2 separate regions of the Homo sapiens genome follow, and region 2 is linked to region 1. The links are contacts of gene promoters, found by promoter capture Hi-C in blood cells and fetal thymus (Javierre and others, 2016). All regions are on one chromosome and are shown on one strand. Each heading gives the region's core, a stretch centred on a gene start or on the middle of the fragment in contact. The rest is flanking DNA. Distances are from core to core; before and after follow the strand shown.

What was found. Contacts are between HindIII fragments. The CHiCAGO score rates a contact against its expected background, and 5 or more counts as called.
Region 2: a contact is called between a fragment that was not itself captured here and the fragment with the promoter of CAPZB in region 1, in 1 of 17 cell types (total CD4 T cells). The highest score is 5.2, in total CD4 T cells.

What each region holds. Positions count from the first base shown.
Region 1 is chr1:19,482,643-19,487,185 of GRCh38, forward strand. It overlaps CAPZB (capping actin protein of muscle Z-line subunit beta), which reads right to left and starts at 2,897. Exons shown (of 9, transcript NM_004930.5): 1 at 2,794-2,897. The coding sequence starts at 2,796. It also overlaps a transcript of LOC105376819 not described here. RefSeq lists enhancers at 1,174-1,682, 1,683-2,190, 2,191-2,699 and silencers at 2,604-2,713, 2,744-3,473. The HindIII fragment of the contact is 2,873 bases long and covers 1,217-4,089 here.
Region 2 is chr1:19,188,995-19,193,323 of GRCh38, forward strand. It overlaps UBR4 (ubiquitin protein ligase E3 component n-recognin 4), which reads right to left. Exons shown (of 106, transcript NM_020765.3): 10 at 3,487-3,546; 11 at 3,194-3,384. Among named protein-coding and RNA genes, the nearest start is that of UBR4, 19 kb to the right of the region's middle. The HindIII fragment of the contact is 9,242 bases long and covers 1-4,329 here.

The DNA.
Region 1 (4,543 bases), core at 1,647-4,146:
AGGAGAAACTCATGCCAACAAAAATCATGGAATTCATTCCAAAGTCAAATGCATTTTAGATTCTCAAGTCACTATTTCCCTCAATGGATAACAGAGATCTAGCTGTATTCTCTACCATCAAATCTACTGAAAATGAAAAACATGGTGATCTGAATTCATTTACCTACAATGCAACCTCACACCACCACTTCTGTCCTACGCCAACCATCTACACCGGCTTAATGGTCAGAGTATTCAAATAGGGGATAAACGTAACAATAAGCAGTCAGAAATTACAAGGCTAAGGGATACTAAGAACAAGTGACTGAGAGAATGAATATGAAATCCAAGCAGGTAAGTTCATGGACACAGACACATGCCAAAGAGAACATTCCAAGTGGTTTCTTCCAACGCCAGGTGCTGTTCTAGGCCCCACGGATACAGCTGCGGAAAACACAAGACACAAATCTCTGCCCTCCAAGAGCTCATTCTGGCCCATGCTAAATATGCCTGTATCACCATACAGCTATTTCACTATAAACATGATTTCCTATACAAAGGATCTAAAATACAATACATGGGCAATAAATACTGCTCCTCCCCCCTTGCCATGTTTGAATATCCCATTTTATGTTTTTCAAACGGTATCATTAAACCTTCTGACATACAAGCAGCTTGGTACAATGGGAAGAACAGTTTAGAGCCTGCCAGATGGGCTTCCACTGACCAACAGTGGTTCCTCCACTGGCTGAGCAACACCCTGAATAAGTCACTCCACCTCCTGAGCCTCAGCTGCCTCATCTATAAAATGGGGACAGCCCCAGAAGGGCTTCCTGTGGATGAAAACAGCTTGTACAGGTGAAGCACACCACAGTGACTGGCAGACAGTTCCTCCACCCTTTCCAGCCTTTTCAGATGAGAGCTGAGTACAAGACTCCTGAGAAGCTTCAGGTGTCATGTGCTCCTCCTGGGGGACTGAGGCACTTTCCCATCACCTGGCGAGAATCGCTGCTTCCTGCCTTATACTTTGTCCTGAGTGCACACTCAGGAAACTTCAGCCCACTTTCAAAGTCCTCACCCACCACTGCCCTGGAGAAGTCGTTCTCCATCAAGGCCTGGGGCCAGGCCCACCTCCCCAAACAAGGAGTTTTCAGCCAAAGTTACTGGACAAATCCGAAGGCCTTAAAAGTGGCATTGCCCATGTTTTTAATCAGCATACAGGAAGGCATCAAAAGAAAGCTTAACCCATCTCAACTACTCACCCTCGTTCAGCAGCAACATCCCTTGACTAAACAAGGAACCATGGTCCTCAAAACACTTTGAGGCCCAAAGTCCACATACAAACATGCTCCAAAAATCCCTTGATCCTGTCAGGAAGAAGTTCTCTGGCCCTTCCAACCTAAGTGCTGGGCCTGTCCTGCAGAAGGGTCAAGTGGCAGGAGGGCAGGTCTATCTGTGGGGGCCTATGTGAAACCCCAGGTTCCTCAAAAGTCTGGATAGCATCTGCCTTCTTTACCAAAACAAACACCACGAGCGGAGCCAGCACTCTCCCTAGGCGTTCTGCTCACCTGATCCGAGGGACTTCCATAATCAGCAGTTCCAACCCTTGCAAGCTGACAGTTCAGAGGGAAGGGGAGGCTGCGCCTGCTTGGGTGCATCGTGTCCAGGCCATATGCTGGATCCAGGGCCTGGTGGCCCCCCAAGGCCACGGCCTCACAAGGGCGATTGTGCGTTCATCCTTGTCCTGTGGGCCACCCATCCTCGCCCCTCGGCTCCCACTCAGGCCCGGGCGCCGTGGACCCCGGCCTGCCCTGCAGAATGCTTCGCACGCACAGCACCCACGGCGGCAGCCTCGAGAAGGGCCCGCAGAGCAGCGCGCTGCCTTCTGGGCACACCGATGCCCGCCCTTCCCTCGCTGGCTCCTAGGCGGCCTCCCTAGAAGCGGCAACTGAGAAGGCACAGCACCGGGACCACCCCATCCCTGATGGAGAGCTCCCCTCGCTCCCCAAAGGCTGCAAAGAAGGCGCGCCCCAGGTACAGGGAAGGGGACCCTGGGTCGTGCACCAGGCAGGGGGCAGGACCCTGATGAGAGGCTCAGGGCGGGGACCGAGCGGGGCTGACGCAGGTTACGCTAGGAGTGGCGAAAAGTCCAGGGAAGGGGATCATGGTGGGGAGGGGGCAGTGAGGTCCAGACGGGGGCCATGGGCGGAGAAGAGGAGGTCCAGATTTAAGTTCACAGAGAGAAGAGGAGATTCAGGCTGAGGCCACGGAGAAGAGGGGAAGCAAACCTAGGCCGCTGCAGAAGGGGCTGACCGGGGTCCAGCCTGAGGCCATGGAGAAGGCAAAGGGGGAGGGACAGAGGGAGGCAGCGGCCTAGCCTGGGCCATGGCAGGGAGAAACGACGGCCTAGCCTGGGCCGGAGAGACGGGGGAAAGCAGACCTAGCCCTAGACCGGGGGAGGAAGGGGGCCCACGCCAGGGTCACCGAGGGGGTGCCTGGCTGGGGACACGGTTCGGGAGGGAGGGTCTAGCCTGGGCTATGGGAGAGACCAGCCTGAACACAGAGGTAGTGAGTGGGACTCCAGCTTGCGCCAAGGGCGGGGGCTGGGAGCGGGGGCAGGGTCACTGCCACCCAAGTCGTCCGCGCCGGCGGCACCCTCCTGGGCGGGGAGGGACCGGGTCCACCCAGGGTCCGGGACCCCGCCCCTCCCCCACCCCGGGAAGCCACCCGTCCCAGGCCAGGGATGGGCAGGGGGAGGGGGACGCGAGCTCCGGAGGGGCCCCCGGGCCGGGGAGGGGGCCGTGCGGCCTTTACCATGGTGGCGGCGGCGGCGGCGGTCCCGGTCCCGGCGTCAGTGGCTCTCCCCCCCGCAGCAGGGCCCGGCGCTTCCACTTCCCCGGGTGCCCAGGAGTGAACATCCGGGTCAGCACCCCCCTCCCCCCGCGCCGGGCCGCCGCCACCTTCCTTCCCCGCCCCGGCCCGGCCCGGGCCCGCCCCCCACGCCGCCAGCTCGCGGCCAATGAGCGCGCGGGGCTGCGGCGATCGCCAAGTATGGAGAGCGGCGCGAGAGGCGGGCGCCGACGGGGTGCGGGGGCGGGGCCTGCGAGGCGGGGCGGGGCGCGGCGCTGCGCGGCGCGGCTGCCGGGAGTCCCCGGCACGGGTTGCGGGCCGGGGCGGAAAGGTCTCCTGGCTGTCTGAGGTCCAGTCCCCGACTCTGGGCCTGCAGCAGCGAGTGGCGGCGAGGGAACCGCACCCCACAGTCCCCGCGGGCGGGGATGCGGAAGGCACCGCGGCTGGGAGGGGACCGGCCCTCCGCGCCCCACCCCGTGCACGCGCTCACTCCTGCGGCGCACCCGGAACTGCCGCCGAGCGCGGACCGGCCCGGCCCAGCCCAACCCAGCCCAACCCAGCACTGGGGGAGCGCGCCGGGAGCGGGGCAGGAGCCCAGCGCTGCCGCTCGCTACGGCAGGATCTGGAGCGCCGCGCTGCACCTGAGCCCGGGCACGAATTGAGGAGCCTCGGGCTGACGCCATTTATTCAGCACCTACTATGTGCCAGGCCTTGTTTAGGCACCGGAAGATAACAGATAAGACATAAAGATCCCTGCCGGTATAGCTGCAGACAGAATATCTGTGAGGATGACACAGGTAGAGATTAGAAAATTAAGTTCAACAGGTCGGCCGCGGTGGCTCACGCCTGTAATCCCAGCACTTTGGAAGGCCGAGGCGGGCCAAGGTCAAGAGATCGAGACCATCCTGGCCAACATGGTGAAACCCCGTTTCTACTAAAAATACAAAAATTAGCTGGGCGTGGTGGTTCGCTCCTATAGTCCCAGCTACTCGGGAGGCTGAGGCAGGAGAATCGTTTGAACCCGGGGGCAGAGGTTGCAGTGAGCCAAGATCGCGCCACTGCACCCCAGCCTGGCGACAGAGCAAGACTCTGTCTCAAAAGAAAAAAAATTAAGTTCAACAAATGCTAGCTGTTATGAGTACTGTTGAATGTGCTACAGAGAACCATTCCATTAGCCCAGAAGGGCTTCCTCGCTCCACAAAGTGACTCAAGTTTCTCTCTCCCAATCTCTCTCTCTCTCTCTCAATCAAATATTTGTTAAGCTTAGTCTAGGTAGCAGGAGAGATCTGGATTGCTAACAATATCTGCCTCCGTGGCCTGTTTGCTTTGGTTAAATCAAATTAGGCGATCTGTGAGGGGATGGTAAACTGCACAGATGACAGGAATTGTTTCCCTGAGCCAGGCCCTGTCCTCAGGGAGCTCATAGACAAGTCGAAGCTTTCACAGGTAGCCACTGGCAGAAAAAGCATACGGGTAAGTCTCGCAAGAATGGTATTGGATGAGTATTACAGAAATTCAAGGAAGAGAATGGCACACGCAGTAGATACTTATTGAGCATCTGCTATGTGCCAAGCACTGTGCTAGGCTCTGGAAATAGAGCAATGAGCAAAATAACCCACATGGTTGTGGAGCTTGAGTGTTGTCAGGGAGACAGTCGGCCACCAGGCAAATACAGTGTCCAAGGCCAGGCACAGTGGCTCACGCCTGTAATCTC
Region 2 (4,329 bases), core at 1,752-4,251, 290 kb before region 1:
AGAAAATGACAAATACCAAAAAGAAAACCAAGGCAAAGGACATAAGGCAGTTTACAAAAGAAATACAAATGACCAATAAATAGGTGAAAGGAAATACAATCACATTAGTAATCAAAGAAATACAAATACATGAAATATCATAGCATTCTCTCCTCTAAGACAAGCAAACATGAAGACTAATGATGCCCATTGTCAAAGAGAGCATGGGGAAATGGGCATATAAGCACACAGCTGGTGTCAATGCAGATTAGTGTTACTTTTCTAACGAGTAGTTTGACAAAACATTTCCAATGTTTAAATATGTGAGCCCTTTGTCCTAACAACGGTACTTTTGGGAATTCATCCCAACAGGACAATTAAGTTCCCAAAAGTTTATATTTCAGGAAGTTATCAAAACAAGACATTTGGAACAATCTAAATAAGCGCTTAGCAATAGGGGAATTAGGCAACTACGGTATATTTACATAGTGGAATACTGCTGGCCATTAAAAACTTAGACATTTTAATAGTGTCACTGAAAAGATGATGCAGTATTTCATATACACTGATCCCATTTTTGTAAACTTATATATATTTTATATGTGCACAGAAAAATGTCTGAAGGAATGTTTACCAATTTGAGTGGTAGAATTTGGGATCATTTTTACCTTTCCTATTTATGTCCATCTGTATGGCTTGTCACTTATACAACATACATGTATTCTTTTAAAATATGAAGAAACAACAGCCATTTTAAAAGCATAACTGCTACTTCTAAGGATATACTTCTTGGCATTCTTTCATTTCCCTTTACAATGCCAAGAATGAAAATGGCCACTCATAAAATCACAAACTACCGTTTGCTCTGGAACACTCTTACCTCCTTACTTCGCCTAGTATCTATCAACTTACCATGTCAATACCGGCTTCAGATTTCAGCTTAATTAGCAATTCCTTGGGGAAGCCTGCTCTGATGTCCCTAGCCAGGTCAAATGCCCCTGTTCTAATACTCTCTAGATACAATTTGACATGGCCAGGCAGATTGGCTCATGCCTGTAATCCCAGCACTTTGGGATGCTGAGGCAGGCAGATCACTTGAGGCCAGGAGTTCAATACCAGCCTAGCCAACATGGCGAAACCCCAACTCTATTAAAAATACAAAAAAAAAAAATCAGCTGGGCATGGTGGTACACACCTGTAATCCTAGCTACCTGGTGGCTGAGGCACAAGAATTGCTTGAACCTGGGAGGCAGAGGTTGCAGTGAGTTGAGACTGCACCACTACACTCCAGCCTGGGCAACAGAGCGAGACTCTGCCTCAAAAAAAAAAAAAAAAAAAAATATATATATATATATATTTGTATGGATACCTAGTTCATGTCTCTTGAGAATATGTCCATTTTTATGTTCATCACAGCAATCCAGAACTAACACAGAGCCTGGGACACAGAAGATGCTCAGAGGGTAATTTGTTAATGCAGTCCAGGCTGTGACCTCTTCCTGAAACTCCAGACTCACATATCCAACTGCCCACTCAACATCTCACATAGAGGTCTGACAGTCATCTTACACTCAGCATGGCCAATATTACGTTTTTATTTCTTCCCCATCTTCCCATTCAACCCACTCCTAAACAAGTGTTCCCAGTATCAGTAAATTATACAACCCAGTGACCTCAAGCCAAAAAATTGTGATGTCATCTTTTTCACACCCAACATACAAGCCATCAGTAAATCCTGCCAGCTGTACCTTCCAAATATATTTCAATTCGGCCTCTTTTCTCAGCCTTTGCCGCACCACCCTATCCAAGTCACCTTCATATCTCATCTGGAATGATGCATTCGCTGCTAACTGTTCTCCCTCCTTCTTATCTTATGCCCTGCAGTCTATCCTCAGATCACCAATAAATCAGGTTGCATCTCTCCCTTGTTTAATCCTTCTAACAGTTACTGACTGCACTTGGCCCTAGGTGATCTGGCCACTGGCTACCTGTCTGACCTAATTTTCTACCACTCTCCCACCTTGGTTTCTCCATTTTAGCCACACTGACCTTGCTGACCCTCAGAAATGTCAATGATACTTCCATCTCAAACCTGAACAATTCTACCCCAAATACTTACATAGCTCTGTCACTTCACATATGGTCTCTACATCATGTCTTTGGAGCCCTTTCTGGATCATCCTAAATAACTAAATAACTAAAATAATAGCCCTGGGCTGGGCGCAGTGGCTCACACCTGTAATCCCAGCACTCTAGGAGGCTGAGGTGGGCAGATCATTTGAGGCCAAGAGTTCGAGACCCTGCCTGGCCAACATGGTGAAACCCCGTCTCTACTAAAAATACAAAAATTAGCTGGGTGTGGTGGCATTCACCTGTAATCCCAGCTACTTGGGAGGCTGAGGCATGAGAATTGCTTGAACCCGCGAAGTGGAGGTTACAGTGAGCCACAATCACGCCACTGCACTCCAGCATGGGCAACAGAGGGAGACTATGTCTCAAAAAAAATAAAATAATAAAAGCCCCTATGACTCTCCGGCCCCTCGCTCTGACATCTTTTTCTTCACAACGTTTATATATGATTATCTATAATCTACTCGTTAATAGATTTGTTCATTGTTTCTCCAGATATAAAATAAACTCCATAAAGGCAAGGACATCACTTTGTTTAGTGCTATATCCTCAATGCCTAGAATAGGGCCTAGTATATAATAGGGATTGAATGAAAAAATAAAATCCAGAAACACCTGGGCTTAGAAAACGAAACCTGAACAGTACATTGGTCATATCTCTTCTTTCAGAGTTCATCAAAACAACAGCAAATATTACAGGAAGCAAACCAGGAGGCCCTGACAATATTCTCATCTTACAGGTTATACACGCAAGTACTCAACTCCAAGTCAAACAAGCCCGCTTTACAAGACAGAAACATGTTTTTCTGATGTGAACTTCATAAAATTCCTGAAATACACATTGCACAGATATTTTTCCCCTTTGACAGATGAGGAAATAGAATCAAAGAGAATGAGTGACTTATCTAAAAATCACAAAGCTATGCTGTGGAGATAACAGGTCATGATCATTATCTTAGTTGCTAAATTCAAGCCAGGTAGGAAGGCAAATTTTCCTATTGATATGAAGTCATACTAGCTCCCTGTAAATATAAAATGTTAGCGAAATAAAACAAAATATAAGTTATAATCAAGTAGACACATACCCTTTTCCAGGCCCCAGTTTAGGGGAGCCCACTCCCTCTTTAGTACGAGAAAGGATGTCTCTGACTCGGAGGGCAGCCAGTGGGTCCTTCTCTTTCCCCTTATCAGCCAACGCAGTAGGACTGAGGTTCAGTATGAGGAAAAGGCTGTTTAACAAGCACCAAGCACCCAGCAATTGGAAATTCTGATAGTGCTGTTGTGAAAGGCACAAAATAAAAAACATAATCATAGAGATATTTACATCTCAGAGAGGACAAGATAGGAAGTATGCAGCAGAGACAGATACGCTTCTTACCTCACCACCAGCCCGGCGAGAACTGCTGATTGCTTGTCCAATCATGTCATAGATTTCGAGCTGTACAATATCAAACAGACACAAAAATCTGAACAAGCTGACAGATTTCATCATAAATGCTAAATCCTACCCAAACAATTTAACTTGAAGAGTTCAATATCCTCTTTTCAATGATACATTCCATCGTACTTTCCTTGACCTTCACATGGAGCTGACTCCCTCTTTTCATTTGGATCAAATGTCACCTTCTCAGAAGCCATCCCTCCTCCGAATCAAAAGCAGCATGCCCAGCTCCACATCAGATCACTTTTTTTTTTTTAAGACGGAGTTTCACTCTTGTTGTCCAGGCTGGAGTACGATGGCGTGATCCCGGCTCACTGAAACCTCCACCTCCCAGGCTCAAGCGATTCTCCTGCCTCAGCCTCCAGAGTAGCGGGGATTACAGGCATGCACCACCACACCCAGCTAATTTTTGTATTTTTAGTAGAGACAGGGTTTCACCATGCTGGCCAGGCTGGTTTTGAACTCCTAACCTCAGGTGATCCACCCACCTCCCAAAGTACTGGGATCACAGGTGTGAGTCACCACACCCGGCCCAGATCACTATCAATCACAATGTATTGTTTCAGCGCACTTAATCACTATCGGAAATTTTCCTGTTTACTGCATTTCCCTAAAAGTACACTGACACACAGTAGGCCCTCAAACATATTTGCTGAATTAATGGCTAATCTTTCAAGTGTGTTCTACAGAGATAGGGAAACAATATACCAGATCAACCAATATACCAAATCAACAAGCTGGATGCCTACCTCTTAGACCTACTAGTGCCCAGGGAAAGTA